Regions from separate parts of the Homo sapiens genome. Here all the other regions are linked to region 7. Evidence: promoter capture Hi-C in 16 types of primary human blood cells and fetal thymus (Javierre and others, 2016). All regions are on one chromosome and are shown on one strand. The core of a region is centred on a gene start or on the middle of the fragment in contact, and the rest is flanking DNA. Distances in the headings are between cores, read along the strand shown.

Region 1 (3,166 bases), core at 280-2,779, 500 kb after region 7:
CCTTAGGTCCACCTGCAGCTTTTTCTGGAGTCTGACTCTGCCCTTAAAATACCCTTGCCAGAATTCTGAAGGTTGGCTACACTATGTGATCAACGTTTTTTATTTATTTATTTATTTAGAGACAGGGACTCACTCTGTGTCCCACACTGGAGTGCAGTGACATGATCATAGCTCACTACAGCCTCAATCTTCTGGGCCAAGCGATCCTCCCACCTCAGCCCCCCAAGTTCCTGGGACTACAAGCACATACCACCATGCACCGCTAGTTTTTTAAATTTTTTGAAGAGATGGAGTCTCCCTGTATTGCCCAGGCTGGTCTCAATCCTGGTTTAAGCCATCCTCCTGCCTTGACCTCACAAAGTGGTGGGATTACAGGCATGAGCCATCTTGCCCGGCATGATCAGTGTTTTTTGTTGTTTTGGGTGGTAGAGTTGAAGTCGTTTTTGTGGTGAAATCGAAGTATTACCGTATTACCAACTCATTTTTTAAAATATGAAATGTATAAAGAAAAAATATTAGAAAATTGAAGTTTAGCACCAATATTAATGGAAAATAATGCATTGTGTTCCAAAATGTAAAAAGTTGCAAATTGCACAATTAGAGGTTAGCAATCTCAGCCTCCTAATTAGTAGACTTTGAGGTACTTGTACGTACTTGTTGCCTTAGGCTTCATCAACAAGAGATTATAATTAAGATGCTTCCTGAAAACTATTTTTAGTAGATTTAAGCCTGACTTCAGTTGAACTGTTTCCTAATAATTGTTCTCGTTTGTTTTCATTAATGCTGGGAACAGTGCTAACTTTCTGACAAATCTACCATGATGTGACTCCTGATTACCTTGTTTAGCTTCATACCCTGACACTCTTTTTGCATTTTAAATTATCAATAACAAGAATTAACGTGTATTGATGGTTTGCCGCACACCAGCTACTGAATTCAGCGTTTCACAGCTGTTAAGGCTCCCTAAAATCCTGAGGTAGGAATTATCAGCCTTCATTTTATAAATGAGAAAATTATGGCTTTTCAAAGCTCTGGTGATTACCCAAGGTCACAAAGCTTCTAATGATAGAGGCAGGTTTTAAATCTAGACAATGTGATTCCAAGAACTCACGTCTTTGAAGATTACATGTAGTTTTCTAATAAACTATACTTTTCCTTCTTCCTGGAGTATCTCTCTCATAGTCATCCTACCAAATAGCTATGAATTCATAACTCAGTTCAAAAGTCAATACTCTGGTTTCTCTTTAGAGTGTATAAATCTTTTGCCTTTTACAAAAGTCACTTCTACATCTTCTCTAATCTCCTTCCTAATAAATATGCTCTTCACTCCCACCTATGCTACTACTAAATCTAATACATTTGTTATTATACTTTCCATGCAATAATTATTTATCCATCTCTCTCCCCCCCAACCCCCACTAAACCATGAGCACTCTGAGGGAATGGATTGCTTCTCACTCATCTCTCAATTCTCAGTTCTTTGTCCTGTGCCCTTCATGTGATCAACAAATTATTGTGGAATTAAATTAACAGTTAACACTTGCTATTACTACTTAGATTGCTCTTCTTTCCTGGCTTCCTAAAATGTTCCTGTTAATCTTTCCCATTCTTTCAGGTTAAATTACTCAAGGGTTGTCAGTACTTGGTGCCCTCTCCTCACTTCCTAAGCGCTCCAAAAACTATTAATATCTGGGTTTAGCCACCACCACTCTACAAAAACAGCTTTCACTAATGCCATCAATAACCTCTGGTTGCTAAATGCAATGAACACTTTTTTTAGTTTTAAGTTTTTATTTTTGAGATGGGGTCTTGCTGTGTTGCCCAGACTGGTCTCAAACCCTTGGGTTCATGCAGTCCTTCTGCCTCAGGCTCCCAAGTTGCTGAGACTACAGGCACGTGCCACCATGCCTGGCTTCAGTTTTTTATTTACGTGACTCTCAGTAGCATTTGATGCTGTTGACCACGCTGTCCTTAAAATAATCTTCCTCTTGGTATTCAGAAACCAAGCTTCTCTTACCTATTCTGGTTTATACATCTGTCTTCTCAGCCTACTCATTGTCCTTAACTATTAAATATGTGTTTTTCTCAGGTTCAGTTTTTGTCTCTATTCTCTTCCAACTGTACTGTCTCCCTAGGTGATCTCATCCAAGCTCACAATTTTAATTTCCATCTGTTTAGTCAGGGACTCTCAAATCGTTATCTTTAGTCTGTAACTCGCTTCTGGGATCTTGACCCATATATGCAACTGCCAAGTTACTATTTCCATTTGGAGTATCAAAGTGACCTCAAAAGTCAAGATGTCCAAAAGTGACCTCAAAAGTCAAGATGTCCAAAACTGACCTGATTTTCTTTACCTTTCCCATAACTACAACAACGAGAATGACAACAACAACAACAAAAGACCTGGTAGTCTTCTACTAAACAGCAATGCCAACTACATAGTCAATTGCTCAAGCCAGAAACTCACTGATTTAAGTTTGAAAGTGGGCTGGGATTACAAGTATAATTATACAAATGACAACTTGGGCTCAGTTCAGTTACTTTTGCTTTGATTTTTTTTTTTCCTTTGGGCCAGGGTCCCACTCTGTTACCCAGGCTACAGTGCGGTGGCAAGATCACAGTTCACCACAGCCTCAACCTCCCAGGCTCAGGTGATCCTCCAACCTTAGCCTCCTGAATAGCTGGGACTGCAGGCGCACACCACCACATCTGGCTAATTTTTATATTTTAGTAGAGATGAGGTCTCCCCATGTTGCCCAGGCTGATCTCGAACTCTTGGGCTCAAGTGATCTGCCTGCCTCATCCTCCCAAAGTGCTAGGATTGCAGGTGTGAGCCACCATGTGGCTCACTTTTGCTTTGATTAAGGAGTAAAAATGAGATAAGTAGGCATCTAGGTAAACTCATCATCTTATTAGTTCCCTTGTATCTTAATGTACCATGGGCATAAGGTACCATACCATACTTAATGTACCATGGGCATAAGGACTGCATCAAGTAAAATATTCTCTAAATTGGAAGATTATTGCAGTGGAACACATTGCTTTTTTTGGGAGTTTTGCTCTTGTTGCCCAGGCTGGAGTGCAATGGTGTGATCTCTGCTCACTGCCGCCTCCGCCTCCCAGGTTCAAGTGATTGTCCTGACTCAGCCTCTCGAGTAGCTGGGAT
Region 2 (3,265 bases), core at 642-3,141, 480 kb after region 7:
ATCAAGTTTCTACCTTAAGAAAGTAATGTACAATTAAATAATGAAGCAAATTAATGCTAAATAATGATTTTAAAATACAATGATTTAACTCACAATTTTTTGAACTTTACCATGGTGCAAAACCATTCTGATTTTCACTTTCAGTCCAGAATTCAATGAATTACATGAGATGTTCAATACTTTATTTAAAAAATAGTCTTTGTTTTAGTTGATTCTGTCCAACTGTAGGCTAATATAAGTGTTCGGTGCACATTTGAGATAGGCTAGGCTAAGCTATAATGTTTGGTTGATTAGATATATTAAATGCATTTTCAACTTGGGATGAGTTTATCTGGATATAACGCCATCACAAATCAAGGTGCATCTGTAATGTGTTGATCATAATAGTAATGCCAGCTTTGTTTCCTAGTTATTTTCTTTTTCAGTAGTTTCTGTATATTTTCTGAAGCACAACACGTATGCATTAGAATATGAATAATTTTCATTTTCACAAGTCTCCACTTTGACCCAAGACTAATTAGAAAGGAGTCCCATTTGAATTGATGATGATGATAATGATTATGGTGACAACATTTGCTGAGCACTGATACACGATGTACTAAACACTTTACAGGTAGTATCTCAGAGCAGTCACATCAACCCAATAAGGTAGTATCATCCCCATTTTACAAAGGAAGAAATTTTTAATAAAAATTAAGTAATTTACAGTGTCAATAGCTGTTAAGTGGCAGATCCAGGATTAAAATTCAGATCTTTATGATCCCAGATTATATATTCTTAACAATGCAAGAATCTGATTTAAAACAAAAGAAGTTTTATTCTTTTCAATGAATATAAGTTAAAGCAAGCTAACTAAAAAATTCCAAGCCAGGAGTAGTGGCTCATGCCTGTAATCTCAGTGCTTTGGGAGGCAAGGCAGGAGGACAGCTTGAGCTCAGGGGTTTGAGACCAGCCTGGGCAACACAGCGAGAAAAAAATTAAGTAAATAAAAAATTCCAAGAATAAGGGTTTTCAAAACATGCTCTGATAAATAAGAATGACCCAGATCTTATCTCTAAACATTTACTAAATATTTTCACTTGACTGTCCTGACTTCATGTCAAATTCATACTTATGGTGGAAGACTTAAGAAAACTGACTCAATAATTTACCTACTAAAATATTAAGAAAGCAAATCCCAGCACTCTGGGAAGCTGAGGCAGGCAGATCACTTGAGCTCTAGAGTTAAGGCCAGCCTAGCCAATATGGCAAAACCGTGTCTCTACAAAAAATTTAAAAATCAGCCAGGTGTCATGGCATGTGCCTGCAATGGCATGTGCCTGCAATCGCAACTGCCCGGGAGGCCCTGCTTCAGGCAACAAAAAACTTTTAAGTAACTTTTAAGTACAAAAATCATTATTAATCAGTTTGAAAATGTGTTTTAGAAACACAGTATCAATACTAGATCAGTTTTAAATCATGCATTTACTTACTATACTATACAAATTTAGCAAGCATTATCTCAAATTATGTTGAGAGAAGCAACAATTTTACTAACAATAATTTACTATTATTTATTTTTAAAAAGGCATCATCTTAAGATATATTATATACATATATATATATATTTTTTTTTTTTTTTTTTGAGCTAGAGTTTCACTCTTGTTGCACAGGACACGATCTCAGCTCACCACAACCTCCGCCTCCCGGGTTCAAGTGATTCTCCTGCCTCACCCTCCCAAGTAGCTGGGATTACAGGCATGCACCACCATGCCCAGCTAATTTTGTATTTTTAGTAGAGACGGGGTTTCTCCATGTTGATCAGGCTGGTCTCGAACTCCCGACCTCAGGTGATCCACCCGCCTCAGCCTCCCAAAGTGCTGGGATTACAGGCATGAGCCACCGCACCTAGCCTAAAGATACATATTTTAAACCAGCAAATATAGCACAAATGTCTTTAAGGACAAATAAAAAAGATTAAGATTGTTATTTATAATACTTTCTTATTATTCCTTACCATGTATGGTGTCATAAATTGGAAACCATCCTGAGATGACTGTTGCAGCTTCACTATACAGTAAAGGATCAATATCAATGTACACTTTACCAATGGCATCATTTGCACTGTAAGTATCATGGTCAAGAACTGTGATCTGTAAAGGTTCATCTTGTAAGTCTTCATCATCCACCTACAAGTATACCTTAAAATTAAAACTCATATAGTTTTTAAATCTTAATTACCACAAATGTATACCTATATCAAATGAAAAGGATGACACATCTGCAAATAAAATCTTACAGATTTCTAAGCACCAAAGTAAAGAAAAGAATTAACACACAAAAAGATATAGCTCCTTTTCCTACACAATATCCCATCTTTCTAAAGAAAAAAAGTTTATCTCTCAGCACAAGACTGGGATGACTAACAACAAAAAAATTTAAATCTCAATTTTTTTTACATATTATCCTGTGTTTTACAACTTTGCCTATGATACATAGCAAAAATGCCTAAGGAATGTCATATTAGAGTTCATGTAGTATCTATAGAGAGAAGAATGCTAATTGAGCACAATGACACCACAATTTCTAAGGGCGATTTCAGAGAACAGAACCATAAGCAAAATTAACATTATGTGTAAGAAAAAACAACCTAAGTTCACAAATTAAGTTCATGATATAAACATCTACCCTCTCTCCTTTTATTTAGTCATTATCGAGTTGTTATCATATGCCAAACACTGTGCCAAACAGAGGCATTTACAATGGAGAACAGTGCAAAATGATTTCCTCATGGAAGACGTACTCACTATTTTGGCTGCCACCTTCTGGATATCATGCCATTATCTAATTTACCAGTCCCCTTCATCAAATATAGTGGCCAGAAGGGAACATATTATAGACACTATTAAGATTGGGACAGAATACCAAAGGATTATTATTTTCTATAATTAGAAAATTATACTTTTAAAATGCAGTCCATGGATGTTCTTCTTTACATCAGACATACCATACTATTAAGACTGAGTCTGTGGTTGGCTAAAATCTCTGTATCATTCTTACATATGCTTTGGTCAAGTGATAGCTCTGCAACCCTTATACTCTGGTTGGTTTTTTAAACTTGGATATGAAACATTTATGCCTTTCCCTATCCCCTATTTAATTTATTGTTGATGTTAAGCTAATAATCCAGCCTCTGAAGATTATTTTAAAAATTAAAGAATATTAAGGAATTATTGATATCATTAGTGTGATAATGTGATCTAAGGTTTTGTTTATTTATAAGGGG
Region 3 (3,318 bases), core at 170-2,669, 460 kb after region 7:
GATTACAGGTGCCTGCCACCACGCTCAGCTGATTTTTGTATTTTTAGTATTTTACAGGCATGAGCCACTGTGTCCGGCCACCCTTCTTTTTATAGCTGTCAATACAAGCCTCACAAAGAGGTCACTGGATGTGACAATTTAAAATTTTCAAAAATATATACGTCTATACACCAAATAAGAATACTAATATAACTTCAGGTTTAATGTATGTTGATTGAGCATCTAGTCAATGAGAGATGCAAGAACACATTCCATATGGAAAGTTCCCACTATTCATCATGCTTATTTTAGACGTAGAAAAATCACCAGAGGATTTCTGATCAAAGGGCCTGAATCCAGTGGGACTTTGATGCCTACTCGCTTTTATAATTATGGTCCTATGTTTTAAAGAAGTAAGCTACTATTCTTACTCGTTTGCTTAAACATAACAAATAGCTACATAAAAGAAACTGAAGGACCAGATGTTAGTTTGCTCATCTGTTTTTCAATTCTTAGCTACTCTAGACAACGCCTACAATTACTTTGTTGCCCATGCTGGATTCCACCAATGACAGAGTGGAATCCCAGCACAGTGCTGGGATCTGGGTTCTGTGTCTCCTGAGTGCTGCCTGGGTAGACTGGAGGGGACAGGTGGCCGTGGTCAAAGACAGTCCCAGTGTGTTCAAGTTACACAATGAGCTCTAAGAAATGACAGCTCCAGTAGCCTGCTCAGCAAGAGGGTCTTTGACCCATGGACTGGTTTGGTTCCCTCTGCTACCTATCTGTTCCTATGACACCCACAGTGTTTACATAGGTCTTGTTGTGTTGCCCAGGTTGTTGCCCAAGTCTGGCTATGTTGCCCTGGGCTCAAGCGATCCTCCTTGCCCCGGCCTCCTGAGTAGCTGGGACAACAGGCACATGCTACTGTGCCCAGCTTTACAATTACATTTTTAAAAATACCTGTTTTAAGAACAAGGAAAATAAGTAATCTATAAAAAGCTACTGCTAATGAAAAGAACTAACATCTTAAACTAATGGCCATAATGGTCAATTTATAAAAATGTTTATCTCCCCTGGGTCAAAGAAAAGTTATTTAAGGATTTCCTTAAAGTGATATTGTGACCAAAAATAAATCAATTGGTTTTTTACAGAAAAGTAACTAAAATACACTTAGTTTATTTATAATTAAGATGACTACAAATATATTAAAGTAACGTGCTAGTTTATACTTTCTTTTCATTTCTCTTTTCAGTTAGATTTGGCTTTAAAAAAATCATAAAAATCAATTTTAATAACCACAATTTAAATAAAGGAAACATTGAAACTTTTTAAGAACATACCAGGATTGTGGATACGATCCAAAAGCTTCACAGAACGTGCACTAACTACACCCCCAACGTGTACAAGGAATCCAGGAGGAAATGCCGTCAAGGTAAAAAATGGAAATTCCTAGTGGAAAGAATAAGGGAAAAATACAACTTATCGTGTGTAGAGTGTAAAAAATTTGCTTATTAAAAAGCTTGCCATAGCAACTGTATTACATCCCTTGAAATAAAAGGCCACCCATTACACATCACACATGCTTTGTAATTAAAAGTTTAATTAAATGTTTAGAGTTTCAAATCCATTTCCCCATATATACAATGTTATACAGAATCCAAAGACCCATTTCATCAGTTCTCAATGAAGAAAAAAAAAGTGTTCCTTCAATTTAAGATATTTGAAACACACTCTTCCTTCCTCTGAATCTCCAACTCTGATGGAACTTCTCAATGAGATGAGGGAACTGCCCTATCCCTCTTCCCCTTTATCTATCAGTGGTTTAGACACCCCCTTCACATGAACACCCAGTATAAGACACTGGTAAAGACTCTAAAAACCTGGGGCCAAGGGATCTAAATGAAAGTGGGACCAAAGGAGGATAAGTGAGAGGATAAGCAGTGTGGGTTAAGAGAAAGAGGATAGTGGCAAATATCAAGTTGAGATGGGTAGAGAATCATTGTGTGAGGTTACTCTATCAACACCAATGTGGCAGGAACAAATACAAGTGCATAAAGGTACATTAAGGAAAGTTGAAAGGTACATAGATAACAGCTAGGAAGGCAATAAAATTCCACAAGTTCTTGCAAGCTTTATTCTATCCTTCTCTCTTAAAGAATAAAATTCATCAACTTAGAGACAAAGAGAAACACAAAAAAGACAAATGAAAAAGCCAAGAAAGGAAATTCATTGAAATAGGACCCAATAAGAAAACGGAGCTCCTGTGAAAACATGGAGGCCCCTCACATTACACAAATTGGATGCAAGTAAGGAAAACTTGATGTTTGACCTGTCTGGCTGCAAGATTAATGTAGCTCACTTAACTGGAATCACTTACCAGTAGCCTCAGCTATTTAGAACATAATTGAGCATAATTGAGAAAAATAAGCAAAACAGGGCTCTCAACGGTCAAAAGAACTGTTACGGTCTCAAGCTCTAAAGCTCATATACTTTATTCATAGGAGACTCCCACAGATCATATTCATACTATATTATAGTAGTTATAAATTTTTATCTTAAAAAGAAACAACTCTAAAATTTATCATGATCTCATTTTCAAGACCACCTCAGATTAAATGCAACAAATAAAAGCTGGTAAAGAGATACAGAATACCACCAGAAGCAGGCTTATTAAAAGCAGCAAGAATTATTCACTGGCTGCTTCAAGCATGGAGAATACAAACTCACAAAAGCATGATCACAAAGCACGGCAACTTGGAATCATTTTGCACAAAAGCTATCAGTCCTGTGCACCTCAGTAACCCATGAAGGTTGAGTATAAAAAAGTTTCTAAAATTTATTTAGAAATAAATTCAGTTCAAATTTAGAAGTAATCTTTAAACAAGAGAAAGAAAAATCTATGCTATGTAAGAAAAGAGTAAAAAACTGGTCTATGGAAGTGGTTAGGTATAGCCCAGCAGAAAGGTAGAGGGAAAATAAGGAAGAGGATGGAAGGAGAGTACGTCACTTATAATAAATGTATTATAATATGTTTAGTCAAAATGCATCCTTATTTCCATTTAAACTTCTTTTTCTGTCCTCTAAGTTTTGTTCCTGGAAATCTAATAAAAATTGTACAAACTAGAGGATTACCTCATAATGAATTCATATTTATTATTAGGAAATTTGAATGTAAATGAAGTTTTGAGTCATAAAAATATTCGAATGGATTTATTGTTAGGCACAGCACACACGGGGTAATTACACAATATAAGTATTAAGAAAGAAGTTGGGAAAACAGTTCGGTAATCACTGAGCAAGTACATTTGAACTTTGTAAATGTGAGTTTTAAATGAGAAA
Region 4 (3,321 bases), core at 22-2,521, 480 kb before region 7:
AACTATGAGTATACAGGGAGTCATATTACTAAGCTTTTTACTTGACATGTTCTTAGAATTTCACAATAGAAAGTTAAAAAATGTTTGACTCATCTTTAAAGATTTCTACAGGGCCTTGTTCCTTCAATGGTAGCTCATTCCAAAATTTGTATAACACCTATAATGTTATAACCATTACGATAACCTAAAATAGTAGCACGATGAAAAGAGAGTCAAGTATTATTTGTCTGTAATAATCTTAAGGAAAAAACAAAGTTCAAGGCGATACATGAGATGTCATTCACTTAAAAGAAATCTTTTCACATTTATTGCTAGAGAACATTCACAGGTTGTGAGATTACCACAGCTGTTTTCGCACTGCTTGTCCTTTCAGGGTTTCCACGTTGAAATTATTTGTCTTGGCAGGCATAATGAAAAACACCATCACTGTGATGTCACTTTTATGCATCTGATGAGGAATTAGAAAACACAGAGTCAACTATCAAAGATTTTTAAAAAGTATGATAGATGGAACTTAAACATTGAAAAGTAGAGTTTTAAAATATCAGTAGATAAAAGGTATAGTTATTTATGTTTCACAGAGAGATTATATTCACCTTCCTGAGACTTTTTCAGAAATTTTAATTAAAATCAAAATAAATTTTAAATTTTCAGTCTGTACTTGCCAATAAACAAATTGACTTTCAATCAGTATTTGTCAGTTAACAATTTGAAAATTCAAACAAAATATTTTCGTGCCTTTGACCATCTAGAATAGATAACAATTGCTATTGATGACACTGTGCTTTTCTGTGGTTAAAAAAATAGCATGAATGAGAGCTAATATTACAAGACCAAAATTAGTTCTTTAAAATTTCAGATTGGAAGTTTAATGAAGATTTAAGCTTTGGTAAAAGCTAAAATAATATTTCAATTTTTTTGCTTATTCATGTTGATTGATGACAGATAGATTATTTTTACTTTTCCGCTAAATGTCTTGATTCTCATGATGTTGTATTTTGGTTTTTAGCCCTAAAGCAAAGAAACAAGCACATGACGAGCACTTTTGGGATAGCAGACACTGTGCTGGGTGCTTTAAATATACTACTAATAATCATGTACAATAGGCATTTCTCTCCTCATTTTATTAATGTCAAAAGAAAGGAATGAGAGGTTAAATATTTTCTCTGAGTCCTATAACAGGTTAGTGCCAAAGCTGACATTTAAACTGCTGGCTTAGCATCTCTCAAAAGGAAATGACTTGTTAAGAAGCTGTAAGAATGAAAGCATAAACTCACTTAAAATCATGAACCTCTATGAAGGTTTATGTGTTCTGGAAATGACTGACTAGCTCCAGAGTGTGGGGCACTTTACCGTCTAGTATGCAGCCTCGGCCCTCTAGGGCCTGACATTTTATTAGGGAAAGCTACTGAAGGCATACAATAGGAAACTCACCCTAGGAACAGCCAAGGTGCTATCAAAAAATAAATGTACTATGTGGAAAGAGAATTCCTTCTTTTAACTTCTCCAAGTATTGCAGTTATCTTTTATGTCTAGTATAATAGTAATCAGTCTTTTCTTCATATCTATAAATAAAGTGAATATTTAATAACTATATAAATGCATTTATTAATAATGTCCCTAAAGATTGTATATGTGATATAGTTGTGAGTCCATTATAAAGCTTGTTGAATGAATATATACTAGGAAATATTAAGTAAGGTTATTTAAGAATAATCTTTTTAGTCTTCAGTTCTGTTTTGCATAGTTGGATTTTATTAATAAATCGCTTGTTTATTAACGTGGCTTTAGTAAATTTTTTTAGCATATTTGGCATAATGTCTGCTCTAAAGCAAAAAATTTATGTCCAAGAAATAAAAATTTAACTGGAGGGTAGTACAGAACTCAGGAAAGTTTAGATTTTCTCATTATCTCATTAAGATTGAAATTCTACACTCTTCTCCTGTGAATATTTTCCTATTACTTATTCTACATTTTTATGTGATGGGATTGGAATATAAACCAATAGCTGCCATCAATAGCTATGACATGGTATCTTTTTTTATAGTTGCTTTTATTTATGCATATTGTGTTGCTCGGTTAGTTGAGAACCCACTTTGTATCCCACCTTCCTGAGTAAAAAAAATGATTTCACATGGTTGGGAGTAAGAACCTTCTTTTTCCTCCTTCATGCTTTCATGTGGTGTGACATCCACTAGTTCAAGAGTTTAAAACTCTTAGTCGCAGGGAGGTGGTGTGGCTGGGGAGGTGAGTGAACCGAGTGTGTATGTGTCTGCCCTGTTCTATAGAGAGTTCGTGCTGTCGGGTTTGGCTGCCAGCTATGTGGCACGTGCTACTCTGAAGGCCTGCTTCAGTCGGGAGAGGAGAGTGATGGTCAGAGCTTCCTATGATTAAATGGCTAAGAGTCATAACAAGGTTCAGTATTAGGATGCGTATTGTCATGTGCATAAGCCACATCTTCCATTATAGTCTTCACTGATTTTCTGAAAATTGATATTTTGCTCTGCATTTACTGGATTTCTCTATATTTACTTTTCAATTGATTACAAACTCATGTGAGGGAAAAGGGATGTTATAATGACTTATTAAAACATAGAAGGGGAGAATGGGATAAGCTTAATGAGACATATAATGGGATAAGCTTAAGATTCTCCAAAAAAAAAAAAAAAAAAAAAAAGATGACATTATAGACAAACACACAAGTCAACAGTGTGGTAACTCCAATATGTAAATTGAAAGGCTGAAGCCATTTTTAGAATACGATTATCGTTTATTCTCTTGAAAACTATTTAAGAAGCCAAAAAATTCTTCACTTCCCACAGAAGAAAGTTCTCCCTACAAGAGTGTTATACCATGTCCTAGAGCTTTCTTACCCTCAGCAGGAAATTTAGCCTGGATAAGGATTCTAGGAAGATGTCAGCTCCTTTGTTTGAAAACTCATACCTCCCAGCAATGAAAAGGAACAAAGTCTTTTCAAGATCAAAGTCGAGATGACTAAAACAAAACAAAACCAAACAGTTTCAAATGAAATACAGCAACAGTAACAAAATGTACACATGAATTCTGTTAATGTACAAAGGGGGCTGGGAAAGATAAACATTTATTATTACAATTCTGTTTTCTCTCTACCAAAGATCACTCATATCTGATACTTCTTTTTCTTTTTAATAAAGAAAATCATACCCATAGAAATGACCTCGAACAAAATCTTGGATTCTGGCCTTGTACATGGCATGTAGATTTTGAAACTCATGCACTGCTGAAAATTTCTTAACATTCAAGCCGTTTGGAGTAACTACATCTAGAAAGGCAAAACAAAAT
Region 5 (3,283 bases), core at 706-3,205, 440 kb after region 7:
TTCCTTTCAGGAAAATACTCAATATAATTAAACATCTGCTCTCTAACATCCTATACAAATGAATGGCTGATGATTTTAGAATCACTGACAGTTTGGTTTAAAGACAGAAGCTCATTTAATTTATTGTTTTTAATAGAATATTTCTTAAATGACATTTTAAGGAAATGCCGAGAATGTTGGTAGAACTAGAGTGTGTAGTGTAAGAAAAAGATGCAAAATTTAAGCCTTCCTTAAACTGCAGAATTAACTTGTGAATGGCAATTATTACTCAATATTGTGATAAAGAGACAACAGAGCCCTCAGAAATAATGCCACGCATCTACAACTATCTGATTTTTGACAAACCTGACAAAAACAAGAAATGGGGAAAGGATTCCCTATTTAATAAATGCTGCTGGGAAAACCGGCTAGCCATATGTAGAAAGCTGAAATTGGATCCCTTCCTTACACCTTATACAAAAATTAATTTAAGATGGATTAAAGACTTAAATGTTAGACCTAAAACCATAAAAACCCTAGAAGAAAACCTAGGCAATACCATTCAGGACATAGGCATGGACAAGGACTTCATGTCTAAAACACCAAAAGCAATGGCAACAAAAGCCAAAATTGACAAATGGGATCTAATTCAACTAAAGAGCTTCTGCACAGCAAAAGAAACTACCATCAGAGTGAACAGGCAACCTACAGAATGGGAGAAAATTTTTGCAATCTATCCATCTGACAAAGGGCTAATATCCAGAATCTACAATGAACTCAAACAAATTTACAAGAAAAAAACAACTCCATCAAAAAGTAGGTGAAGGATATGAACAGACATTTCTCAAAAGAAGACATTTATGCAGCCAAAAGACACATGAAAAAATGCTCATCATCACTGGCCATCAGAGAAATGCAAATCAAAACCACGATGAGATACCATACCACACCAGTTAGAATGGTGATCATTAAAAAGTCAGGAAACAACAGGTGCTGGAGAGGATGTGGAGAAATAGGAACACTTTTACACTGTTGGTGGGAATGTAAACTAGTTCAACCATTGTGGAAGTCAGTGTGGCAATTCCTCAGGGATCTAGAACTAGAAATACCATTTGACCCAGCCATCCCATTACTGGGTATATACCCAAAGGATTATAAATCATGCTGCTATAAAGACACATGCACACGTATGTTTATTGCGGCACTATTCACAATAGCAAACACTTGGAACCAACCCAAATGTCCAACAATGATAGAATGGATTAAGAAAATGTGGCACCTAGACACCATGGAATACTATGCAGCCATAAAAAAGGATGAGTTCATGTCCTTTGTAGGGACATGGATGAAGCTGGAAACCATCATTCTCAGCAAACTATCACAAGGACAAAAAACCAAACACTGCACGTTCTCACTCATAGGTGGGAATGAGAACACATGGACACAGGAAGGGGAACATCACACATCAGGGCCTGTTGTGGGGTAGGGGGAGGGGGGAGGGATAGCATTAGGAGATAAACCTAATGTTAAATGACGAGTTAATGGGTGCAGCACATCAACATGGCACAGGTATACATATGTAACAAACCTGCACGTTGTGCACATGTACCCTAAAACTTAAAGTATAATTAAAAAAAAACAAAGAAATAGCAAACAAATGAGGATAAGAATTTCTATAGGCAGCATAGTGAATTAGCATGAAAAATGACAGCTGACTTCAAGGCAAGACGTAGGAAATCTTACAAAGCATATAAGAATTTGAAAAGGATGGCAATCTAGCATCATTTGATATAGGAACTCTCCAAATTTTTTCTAATAAGCAGTAATAATTTTTATAGCAGAAAGAAAAGGCATTTTCCTTGTTTTTTTCTTTTTTTTTTTACAACTAGGGGTGGCACCTATTGTATTGAACTACTATATAAGAGAATTTATTGTATTCGTCCAAGCCACAATACAGAAAAAAACCAAGCTACATGAAAAAGGTCATTTGTTAAATTAGGCTTCCTATCAACTTAAGAATGAAATCTACAGACGTGTAAGAACTATATTGTATCACTGGTACAACTCACTGACAAAGAGAGTTTCCTCAATAGAATATTCTAATTATTTACTGTGCTTCAAAATGCCCCACCTTCACTTTCCTATTTACAATGACCTTTAAGGCTCTGGAATTCATAATAGTCAATATCCATTTTAATACTGACAAAAGAAACTGACCAAGTTCCTCTAGTGAATACCAGAACTAGAATATCTTAGTTATAAATGCGTGCAAGTTTATACTAAACTTGACAAGATACAGAATTTTTTTGCTTTTTTTTTTTTTTTAAATAGAGTCTCACTCTGTTGCCCAGGTTAGAGAACAGTGGTGCCATCTTGGCTCACTGCAACCTCCACCTCCCAGGCTCAAGCAATCAATTCTTCTGCCTTAGCCTCCTGAGTAGCTGGGATTAGAGGCGCCCACCATCACACCAGGCTAATTTTTGTATTTTTAGTGGAGACGGGGTTTCACCATGTTGGCCAGGCTGGTCTCAAACTCCTGACCTCAAGTGATCCACCCACCTCAGCCTCACAAAGTGCTAGGATTACAGGCGTGAGCCACCGCACTTGGCCTTTGCTTCCTTTCTTAATATATACTTAATATATTAATACTGGGGAGGGGGGAAGTAAATAGGCACACTGTGGCATAAGGGGTAATTAAAATCTGTATTATCCAGGTAGACTCTGGTACCAAACTAATAGTTTATATATGTGTATATATATATATATTTAAATATACAGTCACCCTTCCGTATCCATGGGTTTGGCATGTATGGATTCAACCAATCACAGGTTGAAAATAGGAAAACAATAAAAAATCCCACAAAATTCCAAAAAGCAAAACTTGAATTTGCCACATGCTCAGCATTACACTGAATCCATGAAAATGAAATGATGAACAGGTATTATATCAGGTATTATAAATAATCTAGAGATTATTTAAAGTATAGGGGAGAATGTGCATAGGTTACATGCAAATACTATACCATTTTATATAAGGGACTTGAGCATCTGCAGGTTTTGGTATCTGCAAGGGGTCCTGGAACCAATTCCCTATGGACACGGAAGGACCATATATATTATATCTACAGATAATCTTGATAAAATGCAGTACTTTTACTATTTTGTAAATTAAGAATTGTTTTTTATAAAAATTGTTTCATAACCTCTTTCTGTTTTTGGAGGTGAGACACAGGGAAATGAAAGGAAGAGAAAGATCCAAAGATTATTTCTATATCATGACAAAGCAAAAAAAAATGGACACCTG
Region 6 (3,452 bases), core at 195-2,694, 430 kb after region 7:
AAAGTTTAGGACTAATCAGGAATATTTCATTTAGCCAGTAAATCATTCAAACTATACAAGAAAGTATAGTATCCCCCATTATGTGTTTTTCAGAACACACAGTTTCCAATAATTTGGATTTCTTCAGAATATATATTAAGACTACTTCCTAAATTTTACTGGATTAAGGCCACCTTTGTGAATCTGTTGAACACTATGGAACTTGTCCTGAAAATAATACACAGGCACACAATTGTGCTTACTACATCAGTAGGTCCTCAGATGCCTTGAAGACCTTGCCAGAGATCTTAGTATAGAAACCCTTATATTACTGCAGAATTAATAGGCTATAATTTAAGTCTAAAAAACCAGCAGCATTCTCTATGTAAACATCAGTCAAATACCACCCAGTCGCGTGTGAAAAATATCAAGTCAGCCATACGCTTATCCACACAGTTATCTTCATAAAGATGAACAGAAAAAGCAGCAAATATTCTTCAAGAAATAAGTAATTTATTGAATCCACCTGTCCTGTATATTTTATCACTGAACCATAACACAGACAAACACAAACTGAACTTCCTATTCAGTAAAGATTTACCTCTTTGCAATGACTTTTCAACAGGGGTTTTTGTGGTTTGTAAAGCCTGATTTTTGTCAAAAGTGATTGCGACTGCCGTGACTGTAACCTAGAATTATAAAAACAATAATGGTTAGCAAAATAATCACTGCCAAAACTAAGTTTCTTACATATTTTTTTCAGTACCACGGAACAACCTACACCAAATACCTTTTCTGGTTAAAATCCTCAACCAGAATTATGTATAAATTCAAATCATACACAAACTACAACTATACCAAACAGTTATACCTAAATCTAGATATTCCAGAAAGAGCTCAAGAACCTTCTCTAAAAAATGGGAACTGGTGAAATCCCACATGATGGGTACAGATCCTACTGTATACATGCTGAAGCATACGTGTGCTTACCCCCTCAGATAACTAAAGTTCAGAAAAAGAAACACACATGGCCTAATGCATACTAACATATATTTTTTAATATTGTGAGGTAAACTAGTATATGTTTATTTAATTACGGCAAAATTATGATAAACAGATAATGAAAATAATAAAACAGATCAGATAAAGACTAATAATGGACTAAATCTTAATTACCTGAATTAATTCATCTTCAGGCAGAGATACTGTAAAATTTACATGGCAAAGGCAGCAGGGGATCATAGATCGTAGTTTAAAGTACAGGCTCTACACAATAGAAAATATTAGTAATGTCACTTTTTTATTTAAAAATTTTTAAAAGCTGATTTTTTTAATGTACATTATATTATAGCAAATGGAGAGTTAAAAATAAAACAAAACTGGTCCACTTTTGTTTTGTGTATTTTTACACTAACGATATACTTTTTAATATTTAAGTAGACAATAAGATTTAATCGTCAATAAGTCACAAAAAATAATATAGTAAGTTTTTTTAAATATACACATATACACTAGATTTTTATGGAAGTTAAAGCTATTAACTAAAACTATTTCTTTTATAATTTGATATAGTAAGGGGGAGAGGACAACTTTAGTATCTCACCCGCTGATAGAGGTAAGGTAAGTAGGTAAGAATGATTCAGCCCACAACTGTGTAAGGTATTACAGACAATACAGCAATATAGACACTTAAAATTTCATTATTATAGACGCATGAAATAAAATTTAGTCAGAAGGTTCCTACCTTGAGCAAATTTTCACAGAGATCATTAAAGTTCTTATTGAGAGCTTGATTAGTCAGGTTGAGGCTGCTTAATCTGATTACTCTTACTGAAGTGAACATCTAAATGTGGGGTGACATAACATGTCATTTTATTATTTTTAACTAAATATTTTAACAGTTGATAAATTGCCAAATAATGAACAATACTAACTAATGTAGTAGAATAAGGATGGTATTTTAATTGCAATAAGGAGGTAAAAAAAAAAAGACAAATATTTAAATGGAACTTACTAAAATAACTTATGTGTTATGTGCTTAAAATTAAGAAAAAAAGGTTTACCTGTATTTCAGAGGTCCAATTATTTATACCGGGCATAATTTCTGTATTACAACTATAAAAGCCTGTCAAAATAAATTGTAATCAAAATATATGATAATATTTCATTGATTTTTGTGTTAAATGACATTTTTCAATTATTATATGAAGTTCTAACTATAACACCCTTCATTTTTTTTCTTCTAAAACTATACCTGCAGGAGACTTTAAACCATCCTAATAAATTATCACAGGTTTTTTTTTCCGTGTATAAATATAAAAGGACTAAAAATCACTTCCACCTAAGTTCTAACATAAGTATTTTTAAGGTATGTTTTCTACCTTGGAGTAGCAAAGTACATGACAAGCTGTGACACTGTGATAAGTCCTTCTTTTAAAGTAAAATTAGTACTGTAACAATTATGAGCTAAAACATTTATATGTAAAACTAGTTTCATCTCAAAGATAACTTTTTTGTTCACCTGAAGGAGGAGGAACATCAGTAAGTAGAGAATGGACATCTTCCATGGCATCTGTGTCATCAATCTTAAAATAGAGATTAAAACTATTTTATAAGTAGTAAATGCATAATTATTTCACGTTTTAAAAGAACTATTAATAGAGTCAAGAAAAGGCAGAGTCATTTTTCCTAAGTAAAAATATGTAACAAGAAAAAAATTCTAATATCAGTAAATTTCTCCACAGTAATAACCACAAATACTTCCAAGTGAAATATTTTACGTACAAAGTACACTAAGTTAAAAAAGAAAACTAGCTCTTTCTCAAGCCTTTATGAGAATATGTTTCTAAAGACAAAGACATCATAAGCAATCATTATTCTAATTTGTTTAAATTAATAAAGTGTAATGAGATCCTTTCACTAAATGCAGAACTCCTTTACAATGGAATTAGGTACAGATAAATTTAAAGACATATCTAATAATAGGTCTAAACTCTATTTTTTTAATAAAATAAATAGGTCTAAATTCTATTCTTCTTACATCACCATATTCCACTGTGAATAATAAATAGGGAAACTATCCAGCTGGACAGGCGCTGACATTCATCTGCACCTCAGTTTCTAAGTCCTAACCTGCAGACTCGCTAAGCTTCTTCCCACATCACCCTCAGGACTTCAAGAACCACTTTCACTTCCACTTCACGTGGCTACCCACAGTCACAGCCATACCTCAACCCATTATTCCCCAAAACGTTCCACACCCAGGATCTCGAGCATTCTCCAACTACAGTCCTGTCTCTTTGTCCTCTCTTACTGGATATTCCACTTGCCCTCTGTCCTCTGCCCATGTTTGAAGCACTTTGTTCTCATGTGCCTCTCTACTTAGCCAGGATCCCAAGATCAGACTTATCAATAATGCCCTAGATCAAACTTCAGGTAATGTTTGGCATCACCTGGAAAGTTTGTTAAACAGA
Region 7 (3,322 bases), core at 546-3,045:
AGCAACTGCAAAGGCCCTACTCAAAGAGCCAGTGTATGGGGGCAAGTTGTCCCCTTGCCCTTCAGTGCTGGAATGGCTCATAGAGCCTGCCCCTTTCCCAAGCATGGCATTGATGTCTGCTCACAGCCTCCCTTATCTGTGTCTGCACGAAGCACCTTCTTCCAGCACCAGTCCCAGGAAGGGCTGGGCCCTCAGTTAATTCACAGACTAAGAGATGTAAAGTATCCAGTACCTCTCATAGGACCCAAAACATCAAAGACTTCTTCTCTCCCCTCAAAAATGGCCAAGACCTGAGAAGTACAAAATCCTTTTGCCCTCTGGGAGAAGGCAAGCCGACACACTACAATCCATTCTTTCTGTTTGTATCAGCCTCCATCTCAGAAATGTAAAAGACTCTACTTCCAAATATAGGCTTGCAAACATGCTGAAAGACAAAATGCATGCTAGGTCAGAGATGCCTGCTTTAAAGTCTCTTTTTTTTTTTTTCCTAAGAGAGGTGTGTGTGGGTGTATGTCTTTGAGCCTCTTGGCTGGATCAGGGTTTAAATGCTCAGGCGTGGCGGCTCATGCCTATAATCCCAGCACTTTGAGAGGCTGAGGCGGGCAGATCACTTGAGGTCAGGAGTTCAAGACCAGCCTGGCCAACCTGGTGAAACCCCCAACTCAACTAAAAATACAAAAATTATCTGGGTGTGGTGGTGCCCCTCTGTAATCCCAGCTACTCAGGACGCTTGAGAATGGGTGGCAGAGGGTTGCAGCGAGCCGAGATTGTGCCACTGCACTCCAGCCTTCTGGGGGACACAGTGAGAATCTGTCTCAAAAAAAAAAAAGAGTTTAAATGATGCCTCCAGAATTCTTTCTCTTTAATCCCTACATGTCATTGTTCTGCTTCCTCAGGGAGAACATCAGTCTTCCAGCCCATTTCAGAACAGCAAAGCCCCCCTGCCGCCCTACCCTACCCTTGCCCTGAGGCTTCAGGTTAACAAGGTCCTTAGCACCCAGTCAGCACGAGAAAGATCCTTTCTTTCCAAGACTCTCTGGAAAGGACTCCAGTGGGCTCTGCTTGGTCATATGCCTGTCCCTAGACCACAGGTGTGTTAAGGAAAATGGGGTGCGTAGATGGACCAGCTTGGGTCACACACAGTGCAGAGAATGTGAGGGAAACCCTCACCGGATGAGAGAGGGATCAATTCCTAAAAGGAAAAGATTTTTAGCAGACAACAAAACAAAACCAAAAAACCAAGTGTCGGCCACACTAGAGGTGACCAGTAAAGCTGACTTCCAAATTTCTGCTGCTAGGGAATGCTGATGTCGATCAAAGTGCGGAGAGCATATGAAAAATGGAGTTTTTAAAACGTTGAGTTTAAGGCGCCTGTAGGATATTTGAATGAGCTGGTCAGTAATTTCTTGGAAAAAATGACCCAGGGGCATTAAAAAAAGGTGTATGTTTAAAATGTACATTTTAAAATATAAAATGGATTCGTGTCAGGGTGCATCAAGGTATGCAACGGGAAACCCACCACAATTCTAAAGTGGGGAAGTTCTTCAGCAATTATAAATACTTTTTTTCTTTTTTAATTTTAGAAATTTACAGACACTTGCAAGCACCCCAAAAGCCGCACTTCCTCCAAATATCTCTGGACTCCCACTGCTTGACTTAGTTTTGGGGTCACCTCATCAGAGCCTACTTGGCCTACTGGCCCCAGACGAGGCGGCCGCGGACTACAATTCCCAGCGAGCACCGCGAGGGGCGGGGGAGGGGGCGGGGCGAGGGACGGCCGCGCGCGCCAGCTGCCAGGCGGGGATCGGGCGGCGCCGAGCTGAGGTGGTGAGGGACTAGCTCCCGGATGTGGAGAAGCTGGGGAGAAGGCGTGGGAGGAAGATGGACTCGGTGGAGAAGGGGGCCGCCACCTCCGTCTCCAACCCGCGGGGGCGACCGTCCCGGGGCCGGCCGCCGAAGCTGCAGCGCAACTCTCGCGGCGGCCAGGGCCGAGGTGTGGAGAAGCCCCCGCACCTGGCAGCCCTAATTCTGGCCCGGGGAGGCAGCAAAGGCATCCCCCTGAAGAACATTAAGCACCTGGCGGGGGTCCCGCTCATTGGCTGGGTCCTGCGTGCGGCCCTGGATTCAGGGGCCTTCCAGAGGTGCGCATGTGCGAGAGTGGGCGGCGCGGCCTGGGCGGGGGTCGGGAGAGGGAGTCGGGCTGCTGGAGGGGCTGGGGCCTCCGGGGCCACCGCTCTTGGAAGGGGGCCATCTCTCATGCCAGGGATGTGCAAGATCCGGGGTGCCTGGGGCCGGGCTGAGAGCCCAGGAGGAAGGGCTCCAGCTCCTTCCTTGTTCCGTAGCTGCCAATGGTCATAACCTGGGACAGTTCCTGTCTCCGCCCTTGAGAATCATCCGTAAAAGGGGAGATTACACCTCCCCAACCGTCCCCTCCTCCCGGGTTGACCTTACGGGGAAAAGTAAAGGAGGCCACCCCGGTGCAACATCTGTGATAATATGTGAACTTCTTTGGATGGGGGCCATCGAAGCTCCCCTGTTGCTCAGCCTCTGATAACTGCTTGGTGCTGCTCGATTAGGGAGGCATCAGGTTCATGAATGGAGTTGAGTGTCGGGGTGTCAGAGCTGAATTTCAAGCTCAGCTTGGAGATCTTTTCCTAACCTTTGAAAAATACTCCAGCTATCTTCCTGTGAGTCAGCACAATCTAGAAAACTCCCTACATTTATAAATACGTGAGACTCAGTGGGAAGGTGTACAACTGACTGTTTTATGATATATTAATACTTACAAATCATTTAATCATACCTTTGGAACCTCGCCTGCCCTATGGACAGTTTTAATTATGCGTAATTTAGATACATTGCCAAATTGGTCAGGAGTTACAAGCTGATGTTATTCATAAAAGAAGGGAGATCGAATTCTGTGCCAAGAATGAATTTACACATATAGCTTCAACCTAACTACATTTGAATGTGTTGTTATTGTGGAAATTAATTTATGTTAACCTTTTGATGTTTCGATTTTTAAAGAGATGACTGTTTTTGAAGTCATCTCTTTTTCTTTTTGAACCTATATTTGCTTACCCATATTAATATATGGGTAAATGATTTTCATTTAACCAGTCTTGTTCAAAAACGGGAGATGCCAAAAAAGTATAAATATACTAATTTTCTTAATGTTTCAACCCAAAAGAAGTCCTGGATGGACCAAGGCAAATAGGAGCCACCACTCAGAAGATAACACTAGTGCAATAGGAAGTGTGCGAAGGAGAGATAGGGAAGGACCTGGGGATTTTGTTCAATTCAGTAGCTATTTACTGAGCCC

What was found. The method cuts DNA at HindIII sites, captures the fragments that hold promoters and counts their contacts. A CHiCAGO score of 5 or more calls a contact.
Region 1: a contact is called between a fragment that was not itself captured here and the fragment with the promoter of CMAS in region 7, in 9 of 17 cell types (non-activated CD4 T cells, total CD8 T cells, monocytes and 6 more). The highest score is 10.8, in non-activated CD4 T cells.
Region 2: a fragment that was not itself captured here is called in contact with the fragment with the promoter of CMAS in region 7 in 4 of 17 cell types (non-activated CD4 T cells, activated CD4 T cells, naive CD8 T cells and 1 more); the score reaches 9.1 in non-activated CD4 T cells.
Region 3: a fragment that was not itself captured here is called in contact with the fragment with the promoter of CMAS in region 7 in 3 of 17 cell types (total CD4 T cells, non-activated CD4 T cells and activated CD4 T cells); the score reaches 7.1 in total CD4 T cells.
Region 4: a fragment that was not itself captured here is called in contact with the fragment with the promoter of CMAS in region 7 in 1 of 17 cell types (non-activated CD4 T cells); the score reaches 6.2 in non-activated CD4 T cells.
Region 5: a contact is called between a fragment that was not itself captured here and the fragment with the promoter of CMAS in region 7, in 7 of 17 cell types (activated CD4 T cells, naive CD8 T cells, total CD4 T cells and 4 more). The highest score is 9.8, in activated CD4 T cells.
Region 6: a contact is called between a fragment that was not itself captured here and the fragment with the promoter of CMAS in region 7, in 8 of 17 cell types (activated CD4 T cells, non-activated CD4 T cells, erythroblasts and 5 more). The highest score is 9.2, in activated CD4 T cells.

What each region holds. Positions count from the first base shown.
Region 1 is chr12:22,546,327-22,549,492 of GRCh38, forward strand. No RefSeq gene overlaps it. Among named protein-coding and RNA genes, the nearest start is that of C2CD5, 3.4 kb to the left of the region's middle. The HindIII fragment of the contact is 951 bases long and covers 1,055-2,005 here.
Region 2 is chr12:22,525,725-22,528,989 of GRCh38, forward strand. C2CD5 (C2 calcium dependent domain containing 5) reads right to left here. Exons shown (of 27, transcript NM_001286176.2): 4 at 1,997-2,168. Among named protein-coding and RNA genes, the nearest start is that of C2CD5, 17 kb to the right of the region's middle. The HindIII fragment of the contact is 6,677 bases long and covers 1-3,265 here.
Region 3 is chr12:22,505,392-22,508,709 of GRCh38, forward strand. C2CD5 (C2 calcium dependent domain containing 5) reads right to left here. Exons shown (of 27, transcript NM_001286176.2): 10 at 1,320-1,428. Among named protein-coding and RNA genes, the nearest start is that of C2CD5, 37 kb to the right of the region's middle. RefSeq lists a silencer at 544-838. The HindIII fragment of the contact is 154 bases long and covers 1,343-1,496 here.
Region 4 is chr12:21,560,045-21,563,365 of GRCh38, forward strand. GYS2 (glycogen synthase 2) reads right to left here. Exons shown (of 16, transcript NM_021957.4): 6 at 3,184-3,301; 7 at 2,874-2,994; 8 at 342-448. Among named protein-coding and RNA genes, the nearest start is that of SPX, 35 kb to the left of the region's middle. The HindIII fragment of the contact is 779 bases long and covers 883-1,661 here.
Region 5 is chr12:22,486,587-22,489,869 of GRCh38, forward strand. All of the region lies in intron 12 of C2CD5 (C2 calcium dependent domain containing 5), which reads right to left. Among named protein-coding and RNA genes, the nearest start is that of C2CD5, 56 kb to the right of the region's middle. The HindIII fragment of the contact is 4,369 bases long and covers 1-3,283 here.
Region 6 is chr12:22,470,244-22,473,695 of GRCh38, forward strand. It overlaps C2CD5 (C2 calcium dependent domain containing 5), which reads right to left. Exons shown (of 27, transcript NM_001286176.2): 17 at 2,501-2,564; 18 at 2,043-2,104; 19 at 1,724-1,822; 20 at 1,156-1,245; 21 at 581-668. Among named protein-coding and RNA genes, the nearest start is that of C2CD5, 73 kb to the right of the region's middle. The HindIII fragment of the contact is 3,361 bases long and covers 1-3,125 here.
Region 7 is chr12:22,044,423-22,047,744 of GRCh38, forward strand. CMAS (cytidine monophosphate N-acetylneuraminic acid synthetase) reads left to right here and starts at 1,796. Exons shown (of 8, transcript NM_018686.6): 1 at 1,796-2,141. The coding sequence starts at 1,882. RefSeq lists enhancers at 1,613-1,907, 2,223-2,928 and silencers at 1,680-2,049, 1,693-1,920. The HindIII fragment of the contact is 10,395 bases long and covers 1-3,322 here.